Linked DNA regions of Homo sapiens: region 1 is linked to region 2. The links are contacts of gene promoters, found by promoter capture Hi-C in blood cells and fetal thymus (Javierre and others, 2016). All regions are on one chromosome and are shown on one strand. Each heading gives the region's core, a stretch centred on a gene start or on the middle of the fragment in contact. The rest is flanking DNA. Distances are from core to core; before and after follow the strand shown. Region 1 overlaps TMEM132A (transmembrane protein 132A). Region 2 holds the start of CCDC86 (coiled-coil domain containing 86).

Region 1 (7,019 bases), core at 469-2,968, 88 kb before region 2:
GGCCAGTGGGATAAGGGCTCTGATGTCCCGCTCAGACACCAGGATTTCCCACACCATTTTGTCCTTCTCTGCTTCAGGGGCCTGGCCTGGGTACTCCAGCTGCCACGTGACGGGGCGAGTGACCGCTACGCCCCCACCAGTGCTATTCTCCACCACAAAGTCCACCCATAGGAACTCAGACAGTTCAAGGGGACTGCTGGCCAAAGGAGACAGAGAAGCCAAATGCTTGCTAGCTGCCAGGCATGGCCTCAGCACTTCCTGCATTCATGATTATCCCCATTTTACACAGGAGGAAACTGAGGCACAGAGGTTACATAGCTCACTTAAGACCACACAGCAAAAAGTAGCGGGGCTGGGATCTAAACCCAAGCATCCTCGCTCTAGACCCCAAACTCTGACCCACTCTTGGCCTCTCTAAGATCCATGAAGCCATTTAACCACCTCCCACCTGGCAAGGTGGCTCACTCCCCTGCCTGCCCGGGCCCGCTTCCCCCAGACTTCCGCTTTCCACAGCCACTGAGGTGGCATGCGGGAGATTCACTTCCAGGTCCCAGGACCAGACACTTGACCCTCTGAATGATAAGCTTCCTTTGATCAAACAAAAACCTATGTGCTGGGAACCGTCCTGGGTGCCTGATATGTAGCACTGTATTTTATTTTCAAAAATGCTAAGGGATGCATTATTATTCCTATTTCACAAGTGAAGAAACTGAGGCTTGGGTAGGGGAATGTTAACTGGCTTGCCCAAGGTTTTGCCCATCCCAAAAGCATCAGAACCAGAATTCGAACTGGGGCTACTGAGTCCATGGCCTTGACCCAGGCTCAGGGCATGAATAAGAAGAGTTCACAACCGCAGAACTGCAGCTGGGCTTTTTGGGGGAATGTGAACGGCCCAGAGAAAGGATCATTTGGTGGAAGCAGGGGGATGGAGTAGTGGCTATGAGGGCTCTACCTGGGGCACAGGATTGGTTGGCATCTCTTAGAATAAGACTCACAGACACTTGCTATGCCTGGCACATGGCTGGGGCTGGGAAGATAGTGGCCGAATGAATGAATGAAGGAATGGATTATGCCTGCTTTGTGCTGCTTCCTTGAAAAAATCTGTCCTTGGGTCTGCTCACCTGGGGATCTAGAGGCAGCATGGCAGCCTCCAAATCTGCTCAACTGCACTCTATAACCAGCCCTCCCTCCTTTGCCCCCTGGGTGGAGGGAAACTGCCCACCTGGAATCTGGCTCTGTGAGCCCAGCACGGTGGCAGGTGATGAGGGTGGTGTGGTGCCTGGAGCCCTTGAAGCGGTCCAGCTTGGCAGTCCAGAGTGTGGGCTGGGCTGGGCGGGCGGCTGTCACATGCAGCCCCTTCTTCACCTTGATCCTGGGGAAGAGAGTATAGGCTCAGTTTGGCAAGGTGCATGCTGAACTGTGGGCTGGATTGAAGGGGAAAGACAAGGAGCCAAAGCCATCTGACCTCCCTGGCTCCAGTCTGAATCTCCTCTTCACCATCCTCCAACCCAGAAGGACCCCGCCTCAGTGCAGCTCACACCTTACAGCTCTCCCCCACCCAAAGACCACTTACGCCTCCCCACTGCCCATAAGGTCAAAGCTTAGCCGGGCATTTGGGGGCCCTCCAGGGTCTGGTCCAGCCTTAACTTCGGTTGTGACATCTCTCCATGCACTCTCTGCTTCAGCTACACACAAGTTTCCCACACACACGGCACCCATTCGTGACTCCAAGCCTTTGCCCAGTCTGTGCCTTCAGCCTGCTCTGCCCTTTCTTACTTTACCTGCTGATGCTTTAAGCCTCCAACAACTCACAGACCATTTCCTTTAGAAAGCTTTTCCAGTGGTGGGATGAATTTCCCCCTTACTGCACCCACTCACCTGAGCTCCCACCGCACTTTGAACCTCCCTCAGTGCTTACACACCCACATGCCTTCTAATCCAATTCATGCCCATCCAGCTCCCTTCCCTACCACTGGGGCCCCTTTCTGCCAGATAGGGACTGGCCCTTGCTCGTGTTTGGATCTGCAGAGTGAAGACACAGGGCTTGGCAGGCTGTAAGTGTCTAGGAAAGATCTGCTTAATAAGAGTGAGCATAGGAGGGCGTAGGAGATGGGGAGACACAGAGACGGGACATGCACAAACCCAGGCAGGGCTTGAAACTAGGTCTAGGTTTCAAAGCATGTCCACAGACCGCTCTTCGATCCTCAGGAAAGATATCATTACAAAGTGAGCAAGTCCCAGTGCCTCACCCTAACCAAGCCCAGGACTATCCTGCCTAGAACTCAGGCTTCTCAGAATCTTAAAGCCTAAGAGATGCCTCTCCCATGGATTCCTGCGCTGGACTCCAGAAGCAAGTCATACTCTGCAAGCCCTTGCCGGGTGAACTGGGTAGGTGGGTGGGGGCTGCTTTGGGGGAACTTATTACGGAAAAGGACACAAAGAATCAGGGCCTTCCTATGGGGAAGAGCAAGCTCTGTCCAAAGGCTAGACTCCTACGGCGAGGGTGGCAAGGAGGGACAGCATGTAGGTGAACGTGATTGGGGCAAATATCCCTCTCTGGAGCACTGGAGCAAGAGCTCACACTTAGGTACTGCAGTCTCTAAGCCCTTTGCGGGTTCCCCTCCCTGGAGACTTGCAGCTGCCCTGAAGGTGGACCGTTAGCCCCATTGGACAAAGGAATCTCAGGGAGGTGCCAGGGGAAGGGGCAGCTTCCTACTTCTGACTCTAATTCCAGGGCTGTGCCCATGGTGGGCTCCTACCAGCACAGTCATGGCTTTTTACCTGGAAGGAGTTTAGTTTGGTGGACACATGTTTTGCAGAGGTCAAGGATTCCAGCAAGGACCCCAGGAGGAGCAGGTACCTGTCCCTAGTCTTCCCACAGAGGTTCCCACCCTCACCCATCCCCGTGGCCTGGTGCTCACCGCAGGGTCAGGAGGCTGGCTGTGAAGTTGTGCCGAAGCAGGAGGGTAGCACTAAAGAGCTGGCCGGGCCGCACTGGCATGTCAGGCACCCGCAGAGTCACAGCCTCGTCCAGAGGTACCTCCTGGTACTGCGGGGGGTCTGCTGGGCGCAGCTCCACACCCCCCACTGGGAGGGCCTGCTCCCCAGGGTCGTTCTCCTCGCCGGAGCCACAGCCCCCAGGGCCCTCAGCTGCAGGCTCAAGCGTGTAGGCCAGCTCGGCCCGTGTGGTGGAGGCCTGTGAGAACCAGTGCGAGGGAAGCTCCAGCTCCACCACGCAGGCGCCCAGGGATGGCTGTGAAGACACGACAGCAGTAATTGGCATGGGGGTGGGTGCAGGGCGAGGAACAGGATTCTCAGCACCCATGGCAGGAAACCCAGAGCTGGAGGGGCTCATGAAAGGGAGGCCCAGCATGGGCCGGAGACACAGCCTGAGTGACACAGCAAACCAGCAACCTGGCTGGGGCTTCAAACCAGGTCTAGGTTTCAGAGCATGTCCGCAGACCACTCTTCAGCCCTTGGGATAGGTCTCATTACAAAGTAAGCCAATCCCAGGGCCTTACCCTAACCAAGCCCAGGACTATCCTGCCTAGAATCCAGTCTTCTTCTCAGAATCCTAAAGCTCAAGAGACGCCTCTCCCATGGATTCCTGTGCTAGACTCCAAAATAGTGGAAATAGCAATTATAAAAGTAACACTACTAATAATGCAAACACACTGGCTGATTGATTACTCTGCCGTAAGCTATCCTTACATTCATCTCACTTGTTCCTTACTCCAACTCCAGATGGGGTAGGAATTCTTAACACCCCATTCTTCAGATGAGGAAACTGAATCTCAGAGAGATTAAGTTACTTACTCAAAGTCACACACCAAGGACTGAACTCCCTCTGGGGCCCTAAATAACCTTTTCACAGCACTGAAAGCTAGTGGGGGCAGAAATGGAGTCGGGTGGTCCACAACCCCCGCGCTTCCCAGGAGTGGGGGTTTCCTCTCTGCCGCGGGCCCACCACCTGGCTGATGCAGCTGCAGCAGGACCAGCCTAGGTGGGGCCTGTCTACTCACCTGGAAGCGGCAGGCTTGGTGAGCAGTGCCGGCAGGGTGTGTGGCATGGAGCCGGGCACAGGGCAGGCTGCCAGACCCTGGTGGCCAATCCTGCCCTTTGAGGTGGAAGAGAACCCGGGCGTAGGGCTCTGCTGGAGTCACAGCCGCTTCCACTGAAACGGCCCGCACGTCCCATGGGACTGGCCGTTGGTGGGGCTCAGTGACTCGAGGGGGGACCACCTGGAGGGAGAATGAGAGGGCTTAACAAAAGAGGAGCTTGGGAGGGGAAGATCTAGGAAGATGGGATCCCAGCTTGGCAGAAGAGAACCTTTATGGGCCTCAGTTTCCCCCTCTGGAATATGGGGAGCACAGCCGGGGCTGGGGAAGGCTCCCAATTTGTACCCAGCAGACCTCAGGCCCTGAGTCCTGTTAGCCTGAGAGTCCCCGGTGCCCCCTCCTTACCTGCTGAGTGGCAAAAGGTGGGTAGGAGGCCCGGAGAAGTGGCTGGGCCCTGGGCCAGGGCTGTAGGAGCAGAAAGGTCTCAGATCGGGAGCTCAGAGAGGAGTTGGCAGGTGGGTAGTGGCCCACCTGCTGCACACGGAAGTGTTCAGGGGCGTCTAGGAGCTCCAGGGCTGCCGGCAGGTAGACAGGGTCCAGGGGAGCCTGGCCACAGTCCACTGAAGAGGCATAAGAGGGAGAGATGATGACAGCTCCAGAGCTGGCAGGGGCTGACCCGGGTGCCATGCTGGGGCACAGTAGTTGTGGGCAAGGGAGGGAGAAAAGGGCTGTAAATGTCCCTTCCCCTCTCACCACCATTTCACAGATGAGGTCACTGAGGCTTAAAGAGCCTCACACAGGTAGTATGTAGCAAAGCCAGGATTCGAATCTGAGTCCAGGACTGGATGCTTCCCAGCTATTCCTTCTACTTTCCACAGACCTTGGCCTTCTTCTCGCCAACAGCCTTCTCAATGTCTCCTTTTCCCCAACTCCTGCCCTCCATCTACTCGCCTCTGATACCAAGGCACTTCTGGGGTGCAACCGTCGGCAGACTGGGCCAGTGTAGTAAAATATGGTAATGAAGTGAGCTTTCTCTGCCCTGAATCCTTGGCCAGGCTCTGCTGGGCATCCACCCCTCCTCCCCCATCATTGCCATGGCAACCTGCACCATCTTTCCAAGCTTGCTCCCTTCTTCCCTGAACCGACTGGTATCGAGTGCAAGTGTGGGATGGGCGGGCGCGGAAGGTGCTGAAGAGGTCTGTGAAGGCACTTGCTTGCCCTGGGGGTGGGGTGGGGACCAGGAGCCTGGGGAAGACAGTCAAAATAGTCAATCATCAGAAGGACAAAGGAGCACTAAGCCATATTGGTTTGCTCTAACTATGAGCACTAATAATAATAATTAGCATTTTGTGAATGCTATATGCAGGTGAGAATTTAAATACTGTATGTATATGAACTCTTTGAGTCTTTGTAATAATTCTGTGAACCAGGTTCTATTATGATGAATCCCATTTTGTGGATGTAGAAAATGAGGCCGAGAGGTTAAGGTATTTGCCTGTGGTTCCACAGCTGGAGAGTGAAGGAGCTGGGGGTTGATCCCAGGTATTAGCCACTAGACCATCCGGCGTCTCCACCTGCCACTTCTCTCTCCACTCTCCACTGCCACGGTGCACCCTGCAGGCTTCATGCCCTGGAGCGCACCTCCTCTCCTCTGCTCTGCCCGGTGGCACCTCCCTCCTCATTCAGGGCCATGAGTGAATACTGCCTCCTTCTGAAGGAAGCCCTCCTTGGTTACTCACCTTCCCACCAGTCTCCTGTCTTTTGCAACCCTGGGTGCCTCCTCTGAATTAGTAATCTTCCTATAAACAAGGGACCCTGTCTTGCTCATCCTGGAATTCCCCCAAACTAGGAAGCGCTCCCTAGAGAGGATTTCCTGGGAGCCTGGAGACCTGAATTTAAATTGATGAAACTTGGGTCAGGCATTAACATTTTGAAGCCTGTTTCCTCACTTGTAAAAGGGGCAGGAGCATTAGGTGGCACTGTGGACAGGACAGGGCTGTGTAAACTGTGGAGTGCTGTCTGGAGGGAGCAGGCATTATTGCTGCTGCATAATGGATTTGACAAGGTTTTCCTCCTCTCTCTATTAGGACTCCCATGGCGTCCCTCGGGATGGGGAGCAGGTGGCTGAAAGCAACCCCACAGCTAGCTCCCTCTCAGCCCCACAGCTGGACTGTGGGTGGGGGTGGGGGAATTGGTTTCAACCTCCTTCCTGGCCCTCCCCACCAAGGAGCATATGACTGACAGGCTCTCCCTGCCCCCTGCCCCAAGCGTAACAAGTGACCACTGCTCTCTGGGGGCAGCCACTGGCTTCAGGTTCGCCTCCTACTCCATTGCCTCCATAATTACAAGATGCTCTTAGCCTGACTCCCACGGACTCCCATCACCCAGCGCTCGGCTCTCTCGGTGGGGAGGGCAGAGAATGTTTCACTGTCCCTCTGTCTTCTGTGGCATCCTTTGCCTTGCAGCCACAGCCCAGCTAGCCCAGGCCAAGGGAGTCCGACCCCCACCCCGAAGCACAGGGAAGTTGCTGCCCTTTCCCGCAGTGACAGGAATCCTCTCAAAGGTTCTGGAAGGCAAGGATGCGGCCATCCCTGGAGACGCCAAGGTCAGGGAGCCCTGGGGGAAGGGGGAGGGAGGGCTTGCGTCTGTTGCAGGTCCCAGGCAAAGGGGCTGCTTTCCACTCCCGAGGGGGGTGGGTTGGTGGCGGCGGAAGGAGGCTAGGAGGGTGCAGCGCTACAGACCACAGTGAGGGAGTGGGGATGACGCTAGTGCGCCCGGGACCGGGGCCGCCGGGTTCGATGCCCGGGCTGAGGGGTCCCTCGCAGAAGGTGCGGGACGGGGAAGCCCCTGCGCCGGGCTGCCCCGGGTCAGGAAGGAGTTGCCGGGTCGTGCAAGGTGAAGGAAGCCTTAGGGGCGAGTGGCTGGGGGCAGGTTCCCGAGGGCAAGAACTCTCCGACCTTC
Region 2 (7,839 bases), core at 2,092-4,591:
TTCGGAAGCTGTTTTAGTTCTCTTGAGACAGCCTCCTTGTGGGTTTTCCTGCCTTCACCCCTGCCCGCCTATGTCTGTGTTCAGTAGCCAGGCTGATCTCACAAGTCAGGTCATTTCATTCCTTTGCTTGACACCCTTCCATGGCTCCCAAGCTCACTCAGGAAAGCCGGGAGTCCCTGTAAGGGTCACCAGGTCCTGCTGTCTCTCTGACCTCATCTCCTACTGTTCCCCTTCTCCCCCTCATTCCAGCAGCGAGACCTCTGGAAAGCCTCTCAAACGGGAGCTTGCTCCCGCCTCAATACCTCTGAACATCCCTTTCCTGTTGCCTGGATACTGTTTCCCCAGATCTCTGCCCGGCTCCCTCTGCTCAGACCTGTTTATCTGCAAGGCCATCTCTGAGCACTGTGGCAATACCCTGCCCTCCCTGTTATTCTCTGGTCCCCATCCTGGTTTATTTTTCTTTGAAGTCTTTATTACTGACATATCATGTGTGTACTTGTTCTTTATCTGTTTCCCACATTTAGAATGTTTGCTTCAGGAGAGCAGAGACTTTTTGTTCACAGACATGTTTACCCAAGATCTGAGCAACTGGTTGATGAATGAATGAACTACCTTCTGTCCTCAATTCATCCACTTGTTCAGCTTAGTGCCCTACCCTGCACTGGGCTCTGGGGCATCTAGTCATGATAGGTAAGTCCCCACTCTTACACTCTCACGGAGCCTCCGGTTTAAAGGAAAACAGGCAGTCAATAAGAATCACAAATAAATAAGCATTTGTGCAAATGGAGGTGTTACAAAAGAGAAGTACAGCACACAATGATAACATAAAGCATGGGGACTTAACCCTAGTTGGATAAGCCAGAGAGGCTTTTCAGAGGAGGTGACATTTGAACTGAGCCCTGAAACATGAGTGGGGGACTGGCCAGGGAAAGAGCCTTTCAAACAGTGGGAACAGCACGTGTGAAGGCGCTGAGGAAGGAGGGAGCGTCACACATGGGAGGAACATGGAGGGGACAACAGTGTGGAAGCTCTAGTGATGGAGGGGAGAGGAGGGTGGGCCTGCCGGCCTCATTAAGGAGTCTGGAGTGCATGCTCTGAGTGAGCAACAGTGAGTCAGGACGGGTCTGCAGTTGGGCAGGGAGCTGGAACCACACACCCTCTCTCCAGACTTCTTGGTCAAGTGATCTGTGGCCTCCTACTCTGCTCCAGCTGCTGATCCTGTGTCTTGTGTGGGCCCCTCCCTTCTCCCCACCTCTGCATGGGCCCAGCCCCCTCTAGCTCAGCAAGCCCATCTCCCCACCTGCAGCGTGAGTACCAGGACCCCAAGCTTCACCCGCTCAACTTGCTCATCACCCTCTTCCCACCTGAACCAGCCTCCTCCAGTTCCACATGGCCATCAACGGCCCTGCCATTCTCCTGTGACCCCCTGGGACAGGGCAGAGGGGTAGTGCCATCATCCACTTCTCCAACAGTTACAGTCACTCTAGCCTCAAAGTCTCTCCCATGGGAGACTTGCAGTAAATTACTCTGTAAGCCTCAGTTTCTTCTGTTTCATCAGGGGTGGGGGGATAATATCCACAGCCTAGGGTTTTAAGGATACAAGAAAAGGGCCTAGCACGAAGCCTGGCACAGAGTCAGCTTCTTCCTTAAAAACACCCTCCTTCCTCATGGTCCCTCACAGGCATACATCCCTGACTCTCCCCTGTGGTTCCCATTAGCTCGAATTGGAACTGAATCCCACACCTCTCCTTCATGGCAGCCTACACTCTTCCTTCTTCAGATGAGCTACTTCGTTCCTTCATTAAATAAGCATTCATTGGGCATTTACTATGCCCTTGGCACAGAAAGACAAGAAAGATCTCGTGCCTGCCCCTTAAGAAGGTCGCAATCCAATTCAAGGTGGATCTACAGGGATTGGGTAAAGGGGTTTTTTGCACACAGGCTTCGGAATCAGATCTGTGCTCAGGTCCTGTGCCTACCACTCATTTAGCCTTGGTTTCCTCACACAAAAAACAGGAATAATAACACCGCCTGCTTCACAGGGCTGACGTGCAGATTAAGCGTGATGACACATGCTGTTCCATGTTTGAAAGGCTGTTGACTGGTAAATCCTTATTAAGGCTGTTGACTGGTAAATCCTTATATAATCAGTGCTCAGTAATACTTTTTATCTTAAAGGCAAATAACTGTAATAGACTATATTGGATGAAGACCTCACTGCTTTGATCAAGTAATGGCTGGTTTACTTGCTTCTGCTTCTCTCACTAGAGAGGGCAGACAACGGTAAATGTCTGTTGAACGAATACAGACCTGAGGTGCTACAGGAGAGGCCCATAGGGACCCTGAGGAGGAAAGGCATCAGAGAAATTGATCTTTGAGGGCCTGGCCCCACCCTCTCCGGGATCCCAGGGCATTTTACCACATTCTGATTGTAATTACCTGTTTGCTAACATCCCCACTAACGTGAGCTCTCTCTAACCCTGGGGCTATTCTCCAGGCTGCAGCAGGGCAAAGGCGGGGTCCCAACACCATAGAGAACGCCACCCCTGTCCATGCTGTCCCCCACTTCACCTTTTCTTGGAGCGGTCCTTCCACACTCGCCCCGATTTGGGCTTCCCCTTCGGGATTACAGGAAGCTCCTCTTTATTCAACTTCTTGGACGCTGGGGCCTGGGATGAAGAACCTTTTCGCTTCTTTGCCCCGAAGCCGCCTGTCACCGTCTCCCCAGCTGGAGGTGGCTTGCTCGGCTCATGCTGACCCCGGGGGGAGCCAGGTGCCCTGGGTGTCAGCTCCAGTAGTGGCTGAGAGGGCTCCGGACCGGGAGCTTGCTGACCGGGGTAAGGCTCTGGTGATCCTGGGACCGGCGGTAGCTGATGCTGGGGGGCCCCCGGGGTCAGCTCCTCCTTATTCTGGGCCAACTCCGAGGCCAGTACTCCCTGGTCCTGAGAACACTTTGGTGCCTCCTCACTTGGCTTCGGCTGACATCGTGGGGATTCAGGACTGTACTCTGGCTGTCTTTGAGGCGACTCCAGGTGTAGGTCTTGCTGACGCTGGGGGGACGCTGCGCCTGGCTCTGGCTGCCCTTGGGGTGACTCCAAGCCTGCACCCTGCTGCAGACGGGGTGATCCTGGGCTTGTCTTCGGCGGCCTTTCGGGGGACCCCAGGCCAGCCCGCTGCACACTCGGAGGAGACCCGGGCTCCCTCGTTTCTTCTGGGTTCGACTCGAACTCCACAAGGGCCCGTCTCGTCCGCGAAACTGAGGTGAGGCTCTCGGGGGATTCGGGCCTTAGGCCTCCCAGCCGTCGGCTGCGCCTTAACGGTGTATCCATGGCTCAGCCGGTAAGTTTCCACACCCCTGCGCACGTGCAGCCCCCGCCGAAACCGGCGCCTTCCTATGACGTCAGGAGTCGCCGCGTCCGTGACGCACAGGAGGGGGGCTGTTGCTGAGGCGGCCATGTTGGTGAGGGGTGGAGAGGCGGGACCGGGGTTGGGGAGAGTGGGGCTCAGCATGCGCATGCGCAATTCGCGCGAGCGCAGTCAACATGTGATTGATGAGCCAGTCTTTTTCCTGGGATTCGCTTTTGCCTTTCTTGCAAAGTTTCCTGGGGAAAGAAGAGCGAGCAAGTAGAAAAGGGAAAGTGGGAGGACCCATTTCAGGGAGAGAACAGAGTCGAAAAAAGGTCCGAGGAGCCCATAGGCAAGGCCCAGTGGATGTTTTGCAGCCAACTCCGGTGCAGTTGGGCAGAGTCCTGCCCTCCTTGGGCCTGTTTTCTCATTTGTAATAGGGGTCATTTTGCACTAGCTTCGTGCATCCCAAATGATCCTGTCAGAGTCCTCCTCCCACCTACCTGAGGGACTGCTACCTGGGGGTCCTGGAGGTGGAAGATCGGTCTTTTCTGTGTTAATTGTTCACACTCTTGATTCTTCCGTCCTGTGCTTCCGTATATAATCCATAGCTCTCCCTCCCTTTTCAGCGTTTTCAACGTTTGTGAGGGAAGTTGAGGTACCAATAAGATGCACCACCTTTGTCCTGTGGCTCACCTGGGCCCTCGACCAGCTGCATATCCTCCCACGTCCCTCTTCTTCTACCCCAGTTCTAGAAACGGGTTGGATCATCTCCGATCTTCCTTTCAGCCCAGACAGTGGTTTTTGCTCGTGTGTGAACCTGCTTCGCCTCCCCTCCCTTCCCTTGCTATTCACCTGTAAATGTACTTTGCTTACTAAGCACTTTGGGACCTCACCAGTGAGCAGGTGTTGACTTCTGGACCTCCCAAGGCCTAGAGAAGACTCTCGGGATGTGGGGTTGGGGAATGTGGGGCTGTGGAGACTTTCGTGTGAGACCTAGGAGTGGGGCTTTGATTTACTTACAGCATGCTTCTTAGGAAGAACATCTTGGAAGTGGCCCAGTTGTGTAATTCTTGGAACTGCCTGGGGTTGGCCATTAAAGGTCCCAGGGCCCCGTCTGACATTCCAGTGGTTTCTTTTAGAAACCATTGTTTCTCCAGCTGCGGGCTTGTGAGAGGGCCTGGGAAATTGTCCAAGAATATCAGGGATCAGAGTGTCCTCATCTTCCTCATGTTCCTGAGTCAAGGAGACCCCTGCAGGGGGGCTTTGCCTGCCTCACTGCTCCTCTCCGGCCATGCAGCTGTCCACAGCAGAAGCAGCCGGGACACCTCCTTGCCCAGCTCTTCCACCCCCCAACTGTCAGAGGAGTGAGTTCCATTCAGTTCCTTAAATGCCCTGCCCCTGCCTGGAGACCCCAATGATCTGACACTCAGAACCAAGCCCGGCAGGTGTTGCCAGAGTGCTGGAGGAGACTGTATGCCCCTCTGCCCTGCTCCAGTCCCCCTTGGCTTGCCCTGCCTCCTAAGCTCTTGTCCCCAGCTGGAGGGATCACTCTCCAGTGCCGATTGGATCATATCCTAGTCTAGCCTGAAATACTTCAGAGGGTGATCTCAGGTTTTCACCAGAGAGAGGGAGATGTGTTTTAGAGGAGGCCTTTGGGTGGCCCCCAGACATTTGGAGGCACTTTGTCAACCTCAGCATCAGATGGGCTCTGGCCCAGAACCCCCTACTCCCACATGAGCTCAGTTTGTCATTGTCATTATACATGGTGTGCAGAGGCCCAGAGGAGACTCCTGAAATTTTCAGAAGCGCCTGGTGTGGCGATCGCTGTTGGGACCCTGTCTCCTTACACTCCTTTGCTTTCTTTTAAAAATTATTATTATTTTTGAGACAGGGTCTTGCTCTGTTGTCCAGGCTGGAGTGCAGTGGCACAATCACAGCTCACTGCAGCCTTGACCTCCCAGGCCCCAGGGATCCTCCCACCTGAGTAGCTGGCACCACAGGCTCATGCCACCATGCCTGGCTATTTTTTTTTTTTTGTAGAAACGGGGTCTCCCTGTGTTGCTCAGGCTGGTCTTGAACTCCTGGGCTCAAGTGATCCTCCTGCCTCGGCCTCCTGAAGTGTTGGGATTACAGGCGTGAGCCACTGTGCCTGGCCACTCCTTTGCTTTTATTGCAGCTTTCTACATCACAGCTTTCTTGCCTTTAGGTGGTAGGATACTGAGGGGCTTCTCTGTAGCCCCCAGAGGCCACCAACAGGATTGAACTTGCATTGCCCACAAAGGTAATCTGCTCATGGACCCTCTTTTGGCTTCATCCCTGTCTCACTTCCCCACTTTCTTATAGATGCTTGCTGAGGTCATTCTCAGAGCAGACAAATATTGTACTTAATCCTCTTCTCAGAGTTGGCTTCTGCAGAAACCTAGCCTGAAACATTGGTGCCAGCAATGATTGGTCCAGGCATTGTTTCAAGTACTCTCCAAGTACAAATCCATTTCTTAATGCTTCTCCCAACAATCCTGTGAGGCAGGTGCAGTTGTTATTACTCCCAGTTTACAGATAAAGAAACTGAGAGGCTGGGTGCGCTGGCTCACACCTGTAGTAATCCCAGTACTTTGGGAGGCCAAGGTGGGCGGATCACTGGAGGCCAGGAGTTCAAGACCAGCCTGGCCAACATGATGAAACCCCATCTCTACTAAAAGTACAAAAATTAGCTGGGTGTGGTGGCAGGCGCCTCGAGTCCCAGCTACTCAGGAGGCTGAGGCAGGGGAATTGCTTGAACCTGGGAGGTAGAGGTTGCAGTGAACCAAGATCGTGCCACTGCACAGCAACCTGGGTGGCAGAGCAAGACTCTGTCTCAAAAAAAAAAAAAAAAAAAGACTGAGGCACAGAGAGGCTGAGACACTTGTAAAGGTCACACAGCAAATAAGTGGTAGAGGCAAGATCCACACCTAGACTGTCTGATTCCAGAGCCACAACTCTTAACAGTAAATCTGCCTGTTATCCAGGCAAGGAATCAGGCATGGGAAGGCTAAGGTGCTTGCCCAAAATCAGACAGCGGCACATTCAGGAGCCAGGATTGTGGTTCCAGAGGTGGCATGCTTAGCTGCCTTGCAGCTGCCCCCACATGGGCCTTGCTCACCTATTCGTCACACTGATTCTGGTCTGTGTGCTGGGAGGAGGTGGGTACCACCTGGCACACACCATCGTGCAGAATGTGCCGAATCAGCAATACCAGTTTATTTATGTAACCTGAGATCTGCTGACTGATGGAAACCAAGCGCTGGCAGATGGATGGAAGATAGGATCAGGTGTTCTCCTCTGAGTCATTGACCTCCCCCCAGCTAAGGGGTGCTACAGTTGAGAGGGTCTGACAGTCCCCAGATGTCAGAGACCTGGGTCCCCATGGCTTTCTGTTCAACACCTAGCCTTGCCTGAAATACTTCAGAGGGTGATCTCAGGTTTTCACCAGAGAGAGGGAGATGTGTTTTAGAGGAGGCCTTTGGGTGGCCCCCAGACACTTGGAGACACTTTGTCAACCTCAGCATCAGGTGGGCTCTGGCCCAGAACCCCCTACTCCCACCTGAGCTCAGTTTGTCATTGTCATTATACATGGTGTGCAGAGGCCCAGAGGAGACTCCTGAAATTTTCAGAAGAGCCTGGTGTGGTGGTGTACTTGCAGAGTGCTTGAAACAATGCCTGGACCAATCATTGCTTGCCCCGGTGTTTCAGGCTGTGTTTCTCCAGAAGCCAACTCTGAGAGAAGGGCAGGGAAAGGGCCCCTGGCGGTCATCAGCAGCATTAACTGAGCACTTACCACGCGCCAGACCTCTTCTGGGTGCTCCTGTGCTCCCCAGAGCTCCGGTTCGGGAGGGTGATTTTCAGCAGGAGCACGGTACTTGATATGTATTTGTTGAATGAATGGATCCTCATTAGGACCTTACAGGGCTGGGGTGATCATCCTCATTGTACTGACCAGGAAATCCCACTCCCAGAGAGGCTGCGCTTCGGGGCCAGGGTGACACAAAAAGGGCGCAGGGTGAGGTCTGGAGCTCAGGGCTTCTTGACTCTAAGCCCTAAACCTCCACCTCCACCAGGCCTAGGACTGGGACATGGGGCTGACTCAGTCTGGGGTGTCATTGGCAACGAGGATGTTGCTGAGCATGGCAGGAGTGAAGGCAGGACCCAGATGGGCAGAGGTGCAACTGGGCCTCAGCTAATCTTCATTGTGCTACAAAGATCCAAGCTGCTCTGTCTTTTGCTCAAAGCTCTCTCAAGTATTTGAAGTCAGTTTTCTTGTAGCTTTTCCAGAATTGTCTTTTATCCAGGTTAAGCATCTCCTGTTCCTCCCATAACATGATAAGTCTTTGGGAAAGACACCAGTTCTCTACAATGCTTCCAGAATGTGGGGCCCAGAGCTCCTTGTGGCACTAAGGTTGACTGCCCCATGGACGGCTGAGTGGATTTGTCACCTCCCTACTCCATGATCTGTAT

The links. Contacts are between HindIII fragments. The CHiCAGO score rates a contact against its expected background, and 5 or more counts as called.
Region 1: a contact is called between a fragment that was not itself captured here and the fragment with the promoter of CCDC86 in region 2, in 2 of 17 cell types (total CD8 T cells and naive CD8 T cells). The highest score is 5.2, in total CD8 T cells.

Annotation. Positions count from the first base shown.
Region 1 is chr11:60,924,863-60,931,881 of GRCh38, reverse strand. It overlaps TMEM132A (transmembrane protein 132A), which reads right to left. Exons shown (of 11, transcript NM_178031.3): 2 at 4,464-4,678; 3 at 4,023-4,241; 4 at 2,922-3,253; 5 at 1,223-1,372; 6 at 1-193. LOC124902676 (a long non-coding RNA gene) reads left to right here and starts at 6,485. Exons shown (of 2, transcript XR_007062688.1): 1 at 6,485-6,663. RefSeq lists silencers at 6,777-6,846, 6,887-7,019. The HindIII fragment of the contact is 232 bases long and covers 1,603-1,834 here.
Region 2 is chr11:60,837,615-60,845,453 of GRCh38, reverse strand. It overlaps CCDC86 (coiled-coil domain containing 86), which reads right to left and starts at 3,341. Exons shown (of 4, transcript NM_024098.4): 1 at 2,572-3,341. The coding sequence starts at 3,329. It overlaps CCDC86-AS1 (CCDC86 antisense RNA 1), which reads left to right. Exons shown (of 2, transcript NR_182293.1): 2 at 3,474-3,648. RefSeq lists enhancers at 2,916-3,145, 3,052-4,251. The HindIII fragment of the contact is 9,112 bases long and covers 1,330-7,839 here.